Linked DNA regions of Homo sapiens: regions 1 and 2 are each linked to region 3. Evidence: promoter capture Hi-C in 16 types of primary human blood cells and fetal thymus (Javierre and others, 2016). All regions are on one chromosome and are shown on one strand. Each heading gives the region's core, a stretch centred on a gene start or on the middle of the fragment in contact. The rest is flanking DNA. Distances are from core to core; before and after follow the strand shown. Region 1 holds the start of B4GALT4-AS1 (B4GALT4 antisense RNA 1). Region 2 holds the start of UPK1B (uroplakin 1B). Region 3 holds the start of NR1I2 (nuclear receptor subfamily 1 group I member 2).

Evidence for each region. The method cuts DNA at HindIII sites, captures the fragments that hold promoters and counts their contacts. A CHiCAGO score of 5 or more calls a contact.
Region 1: a contact is called between the fragment with the promoter of B4GALT4-AS1 here and the fragment with the promoter of NR1I2 in region 3, in 8 of 17 cell types (naive B cells, erythroblasts, total B cells and 5 more). The highest score is 12.7, in naive B cells.
Region 2: a contact is called between the fragment with the promoter of UPK1B here and the fragment with the promoter of NR1I2 in region 3, in 4 of 17 cell types (monocytes, total CD4 T cells, total B cells and 1 more). The highest score is 8.1, in monocytes.

What each region holds. Positions count from the first base shown.
Region 1 is chr3:119,223,570-119,228,408 of GRCh38, reverse strand. B4GALT4-AS1 (B4GALT4 antisense RNA 1) reads right to left here and starts at 1,923. Exons shown (of 4, transcript NR_046574.1): 1 at 1,728-1,923. B4GALT4 (beta-1,4-galactosyltransferase 4) reads left to right here. Exons shown (of 8, transcript NM_003778.4): 4 at 1,368-1,600; 5 at 4,164-4,351. RefSeq lists a silencer at 2,949-3,121. The HindIII fragment of the contact is 1,940 bases long and covers 1,475-3,414 here.
Region 2 is chr3:119,170,553-119,175,597 of GRCh38, reverse strand. It overlaps UPK1B (uroplakin 1B), which reads right to left and starts at 2,000. Exons shown (of 8, transcript NM_006952.4): 1 at 1,960-2,000. The HindIII fragment of the contact is 9,656 bases long and covers 1-4,539 here.
Region 3 is chr3:119,779,587-119,783,965 of GRCh38, reverse strand. NR1I2 (nuclear receptor subfamily 1 group I member 2) reads right to left here and starts at 1,865. Exons shown (of 9, transcript NM_003889.4): 1 at 1,666-1,865. The HindIII fragment of the contact is 6,406 bases long and covers 665-4,379 here.

The DNA of each region.
Region 1 (4,839 bases), core at 674-3,173, 560 kb after region 3:
GGTGATGACTTAAAATGGGCCATTAGTGACCCAAGGAGGGGCAGATCTTGAGAAGATGTTGGGGTAGGGGGAGTGATAGGGAGACTGATAGAGAGTAAGTGGAAGCAGATACTAGGTTAGGGCACGTAAAAAGTTATGACGATGAGAAGGTGAGCCGGGGGACTAGTTTATATTAGACCTGTTGCGTGAGGCTCTTTGAGCGCGCAAGAACAGAGACACAGTCAGGTTAACGATGGGGATTGTGAACAGGCCACACAGGAGACCATCTCAACAGCTACCCCATTATCTCTGGTAGCTCGATAGCCCAGCATCAGCTCTAGTAGTTGTCATCTGTGTAACTCCATTCCTTACTGTTTGTTTTTAGGGCATTACTGACTGCTGTGTCTTGCATGTAGACCCTGCAGGAAGGCTCTCGTAGGCCAATTATTCTCTTTGGGTGGCTTGAAGAAGTTACTTACCTTGCCTGCTGTTGAGCAGAGCACCAAGGTGCCATTAGACACGTGAGCCTGGTCTAAGCAGCCATGGCCAGGGTAGGGGATGGTTACATGGAACAAGTCATGGCGACTTTCGCACAGGAAGGGCCTATGACTGCTTTACTCAGAAGGGGATAGCTCAATTTGCAAGCATCTTGAGATTTTACAGCCTGACCAGTATACGTGGAATTTAGAAACAAACAAACAAAAAAACCTGAGCTGTTTTCCTCCTGTGGATGGCTTTGGGTTTCATCTGTTTGGATTGCTTCCAGACACTGAGCAAATACTGTGCTCGATTGGAAACGTCTGTTGTGGTGGCAAAATGGGAGAGTTGTTGCAGTGCCACACATACCTGTTACAGCTGGGTTAGGGAGGGAGACTGGTTTCTACTTCTTTTTAGTGCTTTGCTTACAGGGAGCCAGGGTGGTTCCAGAGTTTAGGGAAGGGGTGGGAAGAGTGCCTTGTCCAGGAGCTTGATTCTGTGGAATGCTGTTGATATTTAAGAGATTTTCCCCTCCTCCTGGAATTTGGTGAAGGAAAAGAGGATAGACCAAAGTTGAAGTTACTCTGTCTAGCCCTGCCCTTTGCTCTTACCAGAGTTCACCAGGATATTCCCTCTTACAGATGGATCATAGAGCAAGTTGATTACCCAGCCACAAGGAAATGCTTATATTATATATCCACCACTTGCTTTTGCAGCCAGTAACCTTAGTGACATGATGCTCTGGCCATTATCATGACTAAATGAGCCTTTAAAGTAATCATAATAAAAGCTGACATTTGTAGTACTCACTGTGAGCTGGGCAGTGTTCTTTCTATGCATATTAGCTCGTGTAAACCTCAACACTTTTTGAAGTAGCTACTGTTATTGTCTGTGTCCTATGTTCATTGTAGGAGGCCAGAGCAAGCTCATTTTCAAACCAGATCTCACTTTGGAAGAGGTACAGGCAGAAAATCCCAAAGTGTCCAGAGGCCGGTATCGCCCTCAGGAATGTAAAGCTTTACAGAGGGTCGCCATCCTCGTTCCCCACCGGAACAGAGAGAAACACCTGATGTACCTGCTGGAACATCTGCATCCCTTCCTGCAGAGGCAGCAGCTGGATTATGGCATCTACGTCATCCACCAGGTGAGCGTGGGGGCAGACCAGGGCCTGCCCTCGACCCTCCTCTTCTCTGCCAGACTTGGCCATGTGACTGTTTGTCTATGTTGGGTAAAAGGAACATCAGACTATCATCAAAAACGAGTTCTCTTACCTCATTTATCCTTGAAAGGAGTAGAGGAAATTCTTGTCTCAGAGTGTGGAGTTATGGGTTCAAGTTCTGGGAAATTTTACTGCCCTTAAAGGAACCTCTGGAGGAAGCCTGTTTTGTGAGCCCTTCCATGTTAGCCAATGACTGCCCTCAGATTTCCCCGGAGGCTTCCTGGCCCCTTCTGTTTCTTTCTGTGCGTGCCATGCACTATATGATGAGATTCTGGAATTGTCTGTCATTATCAACCATAGCAACTCAATGGGGATCTAGACAGAGGATTTGAAAGAACATTCTGTATTAGTAGCTGTGGTGCTCTATGGCTGCCACCACATTTCTGCCCTGAACTTTGCCACTATTTATTATGTGAAACATATTATGTTTGATTTTCACTTTCTGGATTCATCTATTTGACTTCCAGAAGCATGATTTGGTAGGAGCACAGCATAACTATCGGCTGCTTTTGAAGAGCTTACCTCTGAGGTCAGTGGAGTGGATGATTAAAGATACCTCTATTTGGCATTAAAGTTTATTGAAAGAAAACTAAGACATCAGTTTAAACATCAGTGTCTAAACTTTTCACAGTTATCCTTGGCCATCCAAGGAGGCCAAGAAGAGGGATAATTCCCCCTCAAATTCTTATAAATTCTAAGAATGTCAGCAAAATCATCACTACTGTTAGAACAGGTAATATTTCTTTTAGATAAAACTTTGGACAACTCAGAGGACCAGCTCTGCAGTATAGACTTGGTGATAAACTGAGGCTCTTGAAAATCAGTGTGCTTATATAGCACACCTATGTCTGTATTTTAGTACTTGGAACAAAATGTTACTATTATATTGTTTTATAGCTATTTTTGTTTTTAAGGTTGTTGGTCATAGTTATGATTTATTTGATTCTGAGTTCTTGCTCAGGACAGTAACCTACAAGGTATAGTACTATTTTTATGAATAGAAAAACATGTTTGCTTTGGGCCAGGCCCGGTGGCTCAGCACTTTGGGAGGCCAAGGTGGGTGGATCACTTGAGGATAGGAGTTTGAGACTAGCCTGGCCAGCATAGTGAAACCCTGTCTCTACTAAAAATACAAAATACTCTGTTAAAATACTAAAAAAAAAAAAAAAATTAGTTGGGTGTGGTGGCACATGCCTGTAGTCCCAGCTACCCAGGAGGCTGAGGCAGGAGAATCACTTGAACCCAGGAGGTGGAGGCTGCAGTGAGGTAAGATCACACCACTGCACTCCAGCCTGGGCAACAGAGCGAGATTCCATCTCAAATTAAAAAAAAAGAAAAAGAGAAAGAGAAAAATATGTCTGCTTCGTGTTATTCTTATCAGGAAAACATTGTGGTAACTTCTGAGAAATACTTGCACTTTTATGATAAACCACTTAACTGGAATTCATTCTGAAGGAATTTGAATGAAGCAGCCATGAAAAAATTATTTAATTTTTTTATTACAGCTTCAATCATATTACAGGTCAAACTGTGTTCTTTTATTGCCCAGTGACGAATCTACCTCCATAAGGCCACTGTGAGGATTAGCCTCCACCAGTAGCATTATAACAGGATTCTCTTACAGGGATTTCTGAGAAACTTTAAAGTAGCTTAGAAATATTAGCAATAACTTTCTCTTTCTATAGGTTGAGATTTCTTGATCCTTTCTGGCAAGCTATTAACTAAGTCTCTTAGAAGCTTAGTGTAAATTCATAACAGAGGGTAAGATTGGGATTACCTAGGGTTGAACTGTGAAGCAGTAATACTAATTGACATGACTAGTATATAAGAAAGGTTTTGTAGTTTTATACAGAATACGTAAAGGTATTTGTAAAATTTTAAGAGAAAATTTTTTTTTGTTAACTGTGGTAAGAATATTTAACATGAGAGCTATACTCAATACATTTTAAGTGTACATTATTATTGATTATTTGAGTTATTTGTATTTTAAAGCTGCTTTTAAAAAATTTTTAATTGTGAAACACACGATGTAAAATTTACCATCTTAACTTTTTTTAACTTTTTAAAATTTTTGCTATCTTAACTATTATTGAGTGTGCAGTTTAGTAATGTTAAGAATATTTACATGCAATGTATCTATGCATAATTATGCAATATATTGGTTGCATAAATATATGCAGTGTATTTATGAAATCAATCTCCAGAACTTAATCTTGCAAAACTGGAACTCTCTATCATTAAACAACAAGTCTTTGGATTTCAAGGACTGTTTCTAAGTTCTGGAATATAAGTATGTGTGAAGCACGAAGAAAAAAATCAAATGGTCTTTTATTGTCATTGCATCTTCTCTGTCAGATCTTTATGTCACAAGTGTAGTCTCGTGCGTAGAATAATTAGAATAATACCATCTCCTGAATCCTAACTAAGAGGCAAACAATATGAAACTTTATCTCAGGAGCTTTTCAAGTTTTAATTTTCATATCTCTAGGCTGAAGGTAAAAAGTTTAATCGAGCCAAACTCTTGAATGTGGGCTATCTAGAAGCCCTCAAGGAAGAAAATTGGGACTGCTTTATATTCCACGATGTGGACCTGGTACCCGAGAATGACTTTAACCTTTACAAGTGTGAGGAGCATCCCAAGCATCTGGTGGTTGGCAGGAACAGCACTGGGTACAGGTAAGGTGGTTCTGCTGAGGGTGGCTTAGGTCGAGAAGCTCAACTATTGTGATCAAGACTGGGTGGAACAAGCATCCAGAGTGTCATAAGAAAATGAGAAATAGAAAAAATGGTCCATAATGTATGCATCACTTAAAGTGCAAAACAGAAGTTAGAGAATGTAATGAGGAAAAAGCCCTACAACTTCAGCAGAGGATCACAAAGACAAGGGAAAGCATTGGAGAGAAATATCATCCAAGCATTGCAGGTGGTGGCCAGTCTCACCCGCAGCGCCCCTGTCGGGGGGCTTTCGCAAGCTTTCCCACACTGACTAGAATGCAAGTAACTTGTTTGTCTATTCCTGACTCCCCCTCTAGGAGGCAACAGGCTGGTGTCCTTAGTGAGACCTCTGTTGAGACATCACTTTCCAGACTGTGGCCTCTTTCTAGAGTATGGGGAGAGGTGGGGGAGGGCATGTCCTCTGAGTAGTCTTCTCGGGAGCCAGGACA
Region 2 (5,045 bases), core at 751-3,250, 610 kb after region 3:
GCCAGAGAGATGCCCAGCTCCAGGGCAGGAGTACTATGGAGAGTCCTTGGGGCGGGGGGGAGGGGGTGGGCAGGCGGGTAGGGCGGTGTGTGATGATGGTGCCCCCTCACCAATGTGGTCTCTGTCCCAGTTGGTGAATGGTGGCCCATCAAGTTTGTGGGCAGCCTGCATGGCTATCAGGCACAAATTCCAGAGCATATTTAAAGGCTGGCTGGTGTTTACTCTGGTTAAGATTGTAAGCAGGAGAAGTCAAAAAGAAGTTCTGAGTTTTGGCCGGGTGCGGTGGCTCAAGCCTGTAATCTCAGCACTTTGGGAGGCTGAGGTGGATGGATCACGAGGTCAGGAGATTGAGACCATCTTGGCTAACACGGTGAAACCCCGTCTCTACTAAAAATACAAAAAATTGGCCGGGCGTGGTGGCAGACACCTGTAGTCCCAGCTACTCGGGAGGCTGAGGCAGGAGAATGGCATCTACCCGGGAGGCAGAGCTTGCAGTGAGCAGAGATCACGCCACTGCACTCCAGCCTGGGCCTCAGAGTGACTCCGTCTCAAAAAAAAAAAAAAAAAAAAAAAAAAAAAAAAAAAGAAAATAAAAGAAAAAAAAAGTTCTGAGTTTCTTTTTTTTCCCCTTGATTAAATGATGTCTAAGGTCCCCTTTGGATGTAAAAGTCTATGATTCTTCCCAGCAGTTAAAAAAAAAAAAAATAGGTGAGTTGATTTTAAAGACTATTTTATAGCAGAAAGCAAAACAATCTGTTGGAGCAGAAAGCAAAGTAAGAAATTTTTCTCCTCACTGAGAAGGTTAATAAAAAGAAAATCCACTTCTTCATAGGGTCTGAAAACTATGTAACCTAAATTTTGTTTATACTCAAAGTATGTATATCTATAAAACCTAATGAGTTCTTTCCTGTTGTGCTTAGCAACTCAGGCAAGAAATGTTCAAGAAACGTTGTCTTTCATTAAAAGAAGACATTCAAGTTAACAAAACTTCTTTAAAAATTTATTTTTATTTTTTTTAGAGACAGGATCTCACTATGTTGCCCAGCCTGGACTAGAACTCCTGATCACGTGGCCTCAGCTTCCCGAATAGCTGGAACTGCAGGCATGTGCCACTGTGACTGGCTACGAATTCTTAAATGGCTTAAAAATCTTTAAAACTAGTTAGAAGTGGAGTTTTAGGTTTATAAACAAATGCAAACATAAAATAATACTAGCATTATTTGAAACTTAAATTTGTATTTTGTGTGAAAATGTGATCAGAATGAAAAATATCTTTATGTCCTGCAGATCATGGTGGAGCAAAGAATTGGTAAGGAGTAAAAACAAATTATGTAAAAATAACATTGCGTAGATAAAGCTACTTTGTTGACTTACTTCAACTGACACATTTATTAAGCAGAAGTGTTTGCAGAGAATAACTGGGAGTAAATTGCTTCACACATTTCATTACAGGTTGGCAGGACCAAATGATTTCTGACAAGAAGACCAAGAAACTTTCTCTCTGCTAGCCTGAACAGATTATTAAGAAATAACACGAGCTATTTCGTTAAACTTTCTATTGCTTTTCTGACTCCACAAGGAAATTGGGGGTCTACAAAGGTGACTGTCTATGTGCGATTTAATCAGGAGATATAGGGTTTCTCGGGGTGCTTGGATTTTCTTGTTCTTTCTGTGGGGATATCTGAGGTTGAAAGCAGGATGGCTGCGTAATATCTCCAGAAGTTTAATGAGAACAAGACTTATATCAAGGGTATTAAGAAAGCAATTCCAACGGTTCAAAGTAAAAGAGAACAGGACAGTCACAATACCCTAAATTACAAAGAAAAAAATGACAGACTTTATGAATCAAGAATCTAACTTCTTCCCCTTTCCCTCCCAGTCTGCTAGCTTCCCTCCCAGGAGAGCAACCCAGCCCTTGAGCCCGGGAGATTCCCTGCAGAGGGAAAGCGGTCTACTCACAGCGCCTCCTCTTTCTGCGCACACGGTAGGGCCCGCTCCGCAGTCTGCACCCGACCCAGGTGCTTTTCTACCCTCCTGCAATTCTTTGAACCTCCAGGACCAGGGAAGGGTAGTCTGTGATTGGCAGGAGGCACCTCACATGGGCTGAGCTTTCCGCTGCCTGCCCTGCCTCGCTGAGGCGGGGGAGTAACCGGAGGCTGTCAGTTGATTTCTGCTGCTTTGGAATGTGTGACTCTGACAGATGGAAGCACCTTGACAGCCACACTCATCGCTTTCCTGGATCCCTCCTAGGTTTGGGCTTTACTGGAATACAAACTCAGGGATTTTATTTTGATTTGATTTGATTTGATTTGTGTAATTTGATCCTTACTCCTGCTTTTGTGTGTTGAAGGCTTGTTAGTCCTGACCGCTCACAGCGATGCTGATATGTGCTTACCTGTGTAGGGCCATGTCCAGTTTTAGTTTCTATAATTTGCATATGCCAAATTCAGAGAGACAGTAATTGCCCAAGTAATGCTCATACTGTAGGTGGCCCAAAGACTGATAAGGAGCAAGAGATGTGGAAAGAAACAGATTGGGAAAAATTCACGGAGAGAGAGGGCTCAAGTGATTATCTGATGTCCAATTCTTCCCTCCCCTCTTCTTCCCTCCCTTTCTCTTCTCTTCCCTTCCCTTCTTTTTTCCTTCTTCCCTGACTTCTGGAGCCATCATGTGTTATACATGGCACCCAGAACATTATTTTAATGGCTGCATAACCTATCATGGTATACATGCGCCATCGCTTGTTTAACCTGAGTTAGGAATCGGTAACTGCAGTAATGTTAGAATTTACTGAGTGCTTTTACCAATAGACTTGGGAGTTCCTCAAAGGTCAGCATCATCTCTGTTGCAGGTTAGGTTGTTCAGGAGCAGACTTTGAGACAAAATTTAGTGTGCAATATATTTATTAGACAGTGCCCTGAGATTAACACCCATGGCAGGGAGAGGGGAGAAACAGGACTGGGCAGAGGAAGAAGTTGAGCTGCAATATAGATGGGACAGTCTTAAGCAGCCCTCCTCAGGAAACTCTGGAGGAAGATGGCCTGTCAGAGTAGCTCTGACACTGGGCTCCTCTATGATCTGCCCTTCAATGTGGATTACCCTGGGAAGGCAGCTTTCTGTAGCTGAGGCAAGTCCTGAAAGGGGCTGATAACTGGAGGCTGGAGGTTGCAAGTACTCCCAGCAGCAGGGCAACCTCCCACTTCAAGGGGGACTGCATGGAGCACCTCTGTGTCCATCACAAGGCCTTATTCCTCTGCAGCTCTTCAGGGCCTTGTTAGATAAATTATCATATTTCACACAATAGAATTCTGTGCAATGGTTAAAAATGACACCACAGATAAACATTTAATGGTATGGAAATAAGTTCAGTCATTTATTTGACAAATATTTATTGAAAACTTAGGATGTGCCAGGCACTCTTCTAGAGGCTGAAAATGAAAAAGCGGTTTACAAAATAGTTTGTGTAATCTGACACATTTTAATTTTTAAGAAAGTTTACCTATGACTTAAAAAGTTAGAAATAGTATACAGCAAACATTAACCAGAATATATCTGAATGGTAAAATATGGGTGACTTTTACAGTCTTCTATTTTTGCAGTTCATATGTTTACAAAGGATCTATATTATAATTATAAGAACGTACAAGTTATTAAAAACATGTGCTGTCCTGGAAATATTTGTGATAAAGTAGCAAGGAAGCAAACAAGGACATGTGAATTTTCATTCATGTCTTAGGCATTTTATGTTCCATTACCATGATTATATGGGGAGAAAACAAAAAGATTTGAAAATCTTCAAAATAGATAATGTGAACACAAACCCAATAACAAGAGACAAGAGACTAGCTAGGAAAAGGAAGATTAGTTTTCAGATAATAACTGCAACTGAATAGTTGAGGAACGTCAAGTCGTTAATGTATGACAGGCTTATTTTTTTCCAGTTAATTTATTTCTAACTCTCTTCTGCTAATCTTCCTTTCTCTCTGGCTAGGTGGCTCCCTTACCCACATCTTAACCTGATTCCAAGCTCATCAGTGAATTCTCATTACTAATATCTCACTTCTGTTAGAAACACTTAGATATTTTCTTCCTATCACCACAATTCAAACTACAGACTCCAGTAGTTTTGGGGAGAAGTTGAGGTCTTTAATAACCCCCCAACTCCCTGTGTATGTTCATTTGAGAGGGAAATGATGTCGTCCTGTGTGAGTGGCCAGAGAGAGGCTCTATCCCTTTCTGTTGGCCATCCCCACTGTCTAGTTCACCACCACCAGCAGCAGTGTAGACAAGGGCAGTGCACAGGGCTGGCCGAGGAGAGCCCTACTGAACCCCACGAGTTCCTAAGCCTCAGAGGGTGCTCTGCCTCATTCATTGGTTTGCAGTCAGTCTTTGTCCTTCAATCTCACCTACCCTCCAGGACCCCAGTTCTCAGGTGGCTGGGTTCTACCTTCTGCACATCTCAGGAACCTAGAACTAAAGGTGGCATGCTTGTCCCCTTCTCTGTCGGGCCATACCACTGCACCATCACCCTCCAAAGCTTTTCCTTCTCTGTGGTAGTTCCAAGGCAAGTTAGCAGGCCTGGTGACTCATGTGATATTTAACTGGGCTAGAAGAATTGGTCCTACATACACACTCAAACTTTTCAGTCCTCATGAGGTTTTCCTCTGTCATCTTCGGGGCAAGGAACCACTGGAATGTTTGTCTTCTCTGCATTCCCTAACAGATCCCTCACTTCAAATTGACTTTCCTATGGCGAGGTAGGGAGTTATAGTGCAAACTGGGTGAGAAAGAGGCTGCCTCCCTACTGGAAGTTCGGAAAGTGGGTTATTTAATGCCTTTTGCTTTCTCTAGTTACCAATTTCAGCAAAAACACTTCTCAAAACATGATGTTGTCTACAATATTTTTAATATATAGTAAAAGTCCCAGGTACTGCCAAATTTACTCTTCACAATATCCCTTTTTTTTATTATTATACTTTAAGTTTTAGGGTGCATGTGTACAACATGCAGGTTTGTTACATATGTATACATGTGCCATGTTGGTG
Region 3 (4,379 bases), core at 616-3,115:
CTAAATAAAAGAAGTGTACACTGTGAAATATGACGTAGCAGTTAAAATAAATGAAGTAGAGCTCTATACAGATATGGAAAGTCTCCAAGTCTTGCTATTGAGTGGAAAAACAGAATTAGAACAACATGGCAACAGATAGGTTTAATAGTCCATCTATGCATAGATGAACACACACACAGACACAATGGTCTGGCAGTAAATATATCACACTAAGTACTTTTGGGGAAACTGGAGATTAGGATTGACAGAATGGCCAAAGGTGAATTTAGGTTTATCTATACTGCTTTCTCATTTTCAAGGAGCATGAAATCATGTATTACTTTATAATTTAAAAAGTTATTACCTAAAAAACCTAGTCTAGTCAGTTTTGTGGTTGTCTTGGGTTTATTCCATAATAATTTTGGAACAAGTTGACAGCTTTTAGATCAGGAGTTGGCAAACTTTTTCTGTTAAAGGCCAGATAGTTAATATTTTAGGCTTTGTGGGCCATACTGTCTCTTTCGCAATTGGTCAATTTTGCTGACTCAATGAATCAGCTATAGCAGGCACTATTCCTCTCCCACATGGCCTCTAATGATATGGCCAGAGTTGAAAGGATGTTGTAGGGCAAAAACAGCCATATACAATACATAACGAATGGGCATGGCTGTGTTCCAATAAAGCTTCATTTATAAAAACAGCTGGTGGGCCAGAGTTAGCCTGTGAGCCATAGTTTGTCAACCCCAGGTTTAGACTTTTATGACATAACTAAAATATTTTTAAAGCGTATTTGTGTACCACAAAATACTTTTTCCCATTAACCAACTGATTAAATAAGCCTCTGAGGCCTCCCTTAGCATCCTTTCAACTCTGACCATATCATTAGAGGCCATGTGGGAGAGGAATAGTGCCTGCTATAGCTGATTCATTGAGTCAAGACTCAGTGGCCTCAGAGGTGTCTGTTGACCTGTCCTAGATATGGAGTGGCCTTAAAGCAGTGCCTCTGGCCATAGCTTCAGCCGAGCTGGGCTGTAAAGTGGAGAGAAGAAGGACCTGGTGGCACTGACCACATGCAGGCAAGACTCGGTTCTGTGGGACAAGGTGCCCTTTCAATAGTAGAGGTAGAAAACTCACTGGTTTGAAGCCAACTCAGCCGCAGCACTGTGCAGGGGTATGGCAGGTGCTCTGAGGGACCCCTCCTTGAAGTGGTGAGTCCTGGTGACTGTCATGCTGCTGTCCTTGGCCTCAGGGGGCTGCCAGCACTAACCCAGCAGGCCAAAAGGAATCAGGACTGAGTTGATCCCAGTTCCCATAGTCCCCAGCTCCCACAGTCCTTGGAGGTGGTATTTCCTGGGTCCAGGGACTCCAGCCCTGTAACAGGGAGCTGGTTGTATGTGTGACTTGTGGTAACTCATGCAGTAGTTAAGGCTTCTCCTGTGGTGATTTTTCTAGGAGGCTAGTGCAGGACCAGAGAGCATCAGTAATGGGGCTCAACATTAAGTGATTGTTTTCATGCTTTTTTTTTTCCACCCTAGAAATGAGGAGACAGCAGCAAGGCCAACATGATTCACGACCCACTATGATGCTGACCTCAAACAGAAGGTATATTTGTGTTCACACACATCTTTTGGCTGGAGCTGAAGGGCGGTCAGCCCCCAGCAAAAGAGAAAGAAAGAAAAACCATACCTGCTTGGTGGTAAGTTCTTTGCTCCGACTTCTCCCCTGGGGTCCACTTTGAACAATCCGGTGCAAAGGATCGATCAAGGAGTAGCTTTACCAAGGAGCCGCTGCCTTGTTCAGGACAGGAGTATTAGCTTATTCTCTTGCTTTTCTCACTGTGAACACTTGGCTTGCAGGCTGAGGCCGAGATTCCCACTGAAGTAAAGGCAGTGCTTCCTCTTCCCGTCCTAGTCATAGGTTATGATTTCCCCGGATATGAGACAATCTTGTCTCTCACCTATATTTCAGTCCAAGTCAGATGTAGGCACTAAGCGGCTCCATTGCCCCTCCTAAGTCCCAAGTCCAGCACTTGAACTAGCAAATGAAGAGATTACCGTATTTGTTCTCATTATGTTCTCCCTACTTTTTTCTTTCAGGTCTCTTCACTACAAAAACACAGGAAAAGGGGAAGAGAGTGGCAAATATCCGCTTTGTCTAAGTAATTCTGAGTGCATTTCATCAGTCTGAGGGTCTCTGTCCTTTACCACTAGGGGCAACATTAATTTGAACCTAGATCTCCTTATACTTCCTCCTTTGTTGAAACCACCTCCCTGGATAGTGTTACTTGATGTGAAAGTGAGCAAAGTATTGATTTATGACGGTGCCAATCACCAGCATGGTTATGTAAGAGGGGGGCAGGCACACAGGGAGAGGGAAAGGGTGTGAGATGAGGGGGCTGAGCACAGTTCTCGAGAATGTGACCCCACCACTTTGATCTCAGAACAGAAGGCTGACCAGGAGTGGGGAGGATGGACCAGCTGAGGGCTCTTTCCTCTCCCGGGTCCTGCCAGAGGGGAGCTGAAGAGTCCTCACTCTTCAGCCTCAACCTTCTTATTCCCTAGCAGCAGGTGCTCCCAAGTGAACAGAATCAACAAAAGCCGAATGTGGTGGATACCAGGATGTGTTTCTTCTACTTGCTTTGTTTATAAAGATGCTTTATGGCAGGTGAGGGGAGTGGAAGTAACTGCTCCTACCTAAAAGGCAAACAAGTACAAGCCTCTGGCAACAGTAAAGCAGGGGCATGGGCCCCAACAAGAGAGGGAGAGGGAGACCACGATTGAGCAAACAGGTAGAAAAGAGAACCTGGGATTGCCAAAAAATGACCACAGTTGTCTTCAGGTGAACATTTGGACTTCCTTACATTTATTTATTGACTTAAGTTGTTATTATTTTGAAGTACATGCTTTAATCCAGCCCTGGTGAGAAAAGCCAGAATATCTAAGTATGATTTGTTTGTTTTGTTTTTAATTGGTTTCTTCTCTATCCAATTTGCACTTCCCAAGGGATGAGAAAGACTTGAGGCTGGGATTTCCTAGGGGTTGACATTTCTCAAGTGGATGCTTGCCTTGCTGTTTTCAACCAAGCGCAGAATGTAAGGTGCTTACACAGCTCACTGCTGGGGACTTACTGCCAGCAGTGGGGACTGGGACCCACAGCCATAGAGCTCTGTCCTTTTTCCAGTCACATTTCTGATTATCCACATGGGATTCTGCTAGGGCTAGGAGGTATTGGATTACAAATCCCACTGGACAGAAAGTTGACTTGGGCCTTAGGCAGGGAGGACCTAGAGTAAGTGAAATATTGAATGTCATGAGGATATTGGAAAGAAAAAGAGTAAGTGAAATACTGGATTTCAGTACCAGTGGAAGTAGCCTGAACAGTGTGCTCTGGGGTAGGAGGACAGCATGGGGCTATATCTGGGGCCTGCAGGTCCCCTGAGAAACACAGATCAGAAGGCCATGGCTAAAGCCAAAGAGGGTGGGAAAGCTGGAAAGGGTTAAGAACTCACCCCAGGAAACTTATTTCCAAGATCAAAAGTAGGCCTTTCTGCACTGACAGGTATCTCCAAGTCCAGGGAAAAAAGGCATGACTCCAGCTCAGGTAGGCCACCTTGCCAGAAGTCCTTAGGTTATGGGTAACATACGTAGCTTTCATCATCTCTCAAATCCCTTCTGGCTCACAAGGGCCTGACCTTCTCTCTCTTAAAAATATAGTGAATTATTTACAGCAGAAACAGGAAACTAAGAACAGATTATGAAACCACTGAGGTAAAGGAAATATTCTCAGGTTTCTGCAGGGATCTTTGGGTCTCTTTTCCTTTGGGTCTGTGGTGTGAAGTCCCAGCTAGAAGACAGGAGAAGGCTGTAGGAGTGCCAGGCCTCTCTAGTCTAGCACTGCACTGTTAATATCAGACATGGCTCTATAGTGAAATGAGTTAAGAATACAGCCAGAAAATACACTCTCGTTCTTAAGGACAGCTTACTAATGCCCTCAGTTGAGGGCCAGAGTCACTCTCAAGCCCAGCTGGGAAGTCAGAGAAATTTGAGGCCTTGACCTCCATTCTATACTTTGCCTATTGCAGCAACCAGAAATGTAGAGCTCCTAAGAAACTCATCAGAGAAAAGCAGATCTGATCAGCCTGAAGAGTTTCTTTTTTTTTTTTGAGACAGTGTTTTGCTGTGTCACCCAGGCTGGAGTGCAGTGGCATGGTCATGGCTCACTGCAGCCTCAACCTCCTGGGCTAAAGCAATCCTCCCACCTCAGCATCCCAAATACCTGAGACTACAGGTGTGTGCCACCATGCTTGGCTAATTTTTTTTTTTGTTTTTCTTTTGTAGAGACGAGGTCTCATTATGTTGCCCAAGCTGGTCTCAAACTCTGGGGCTCAAGCAATCTGTCTG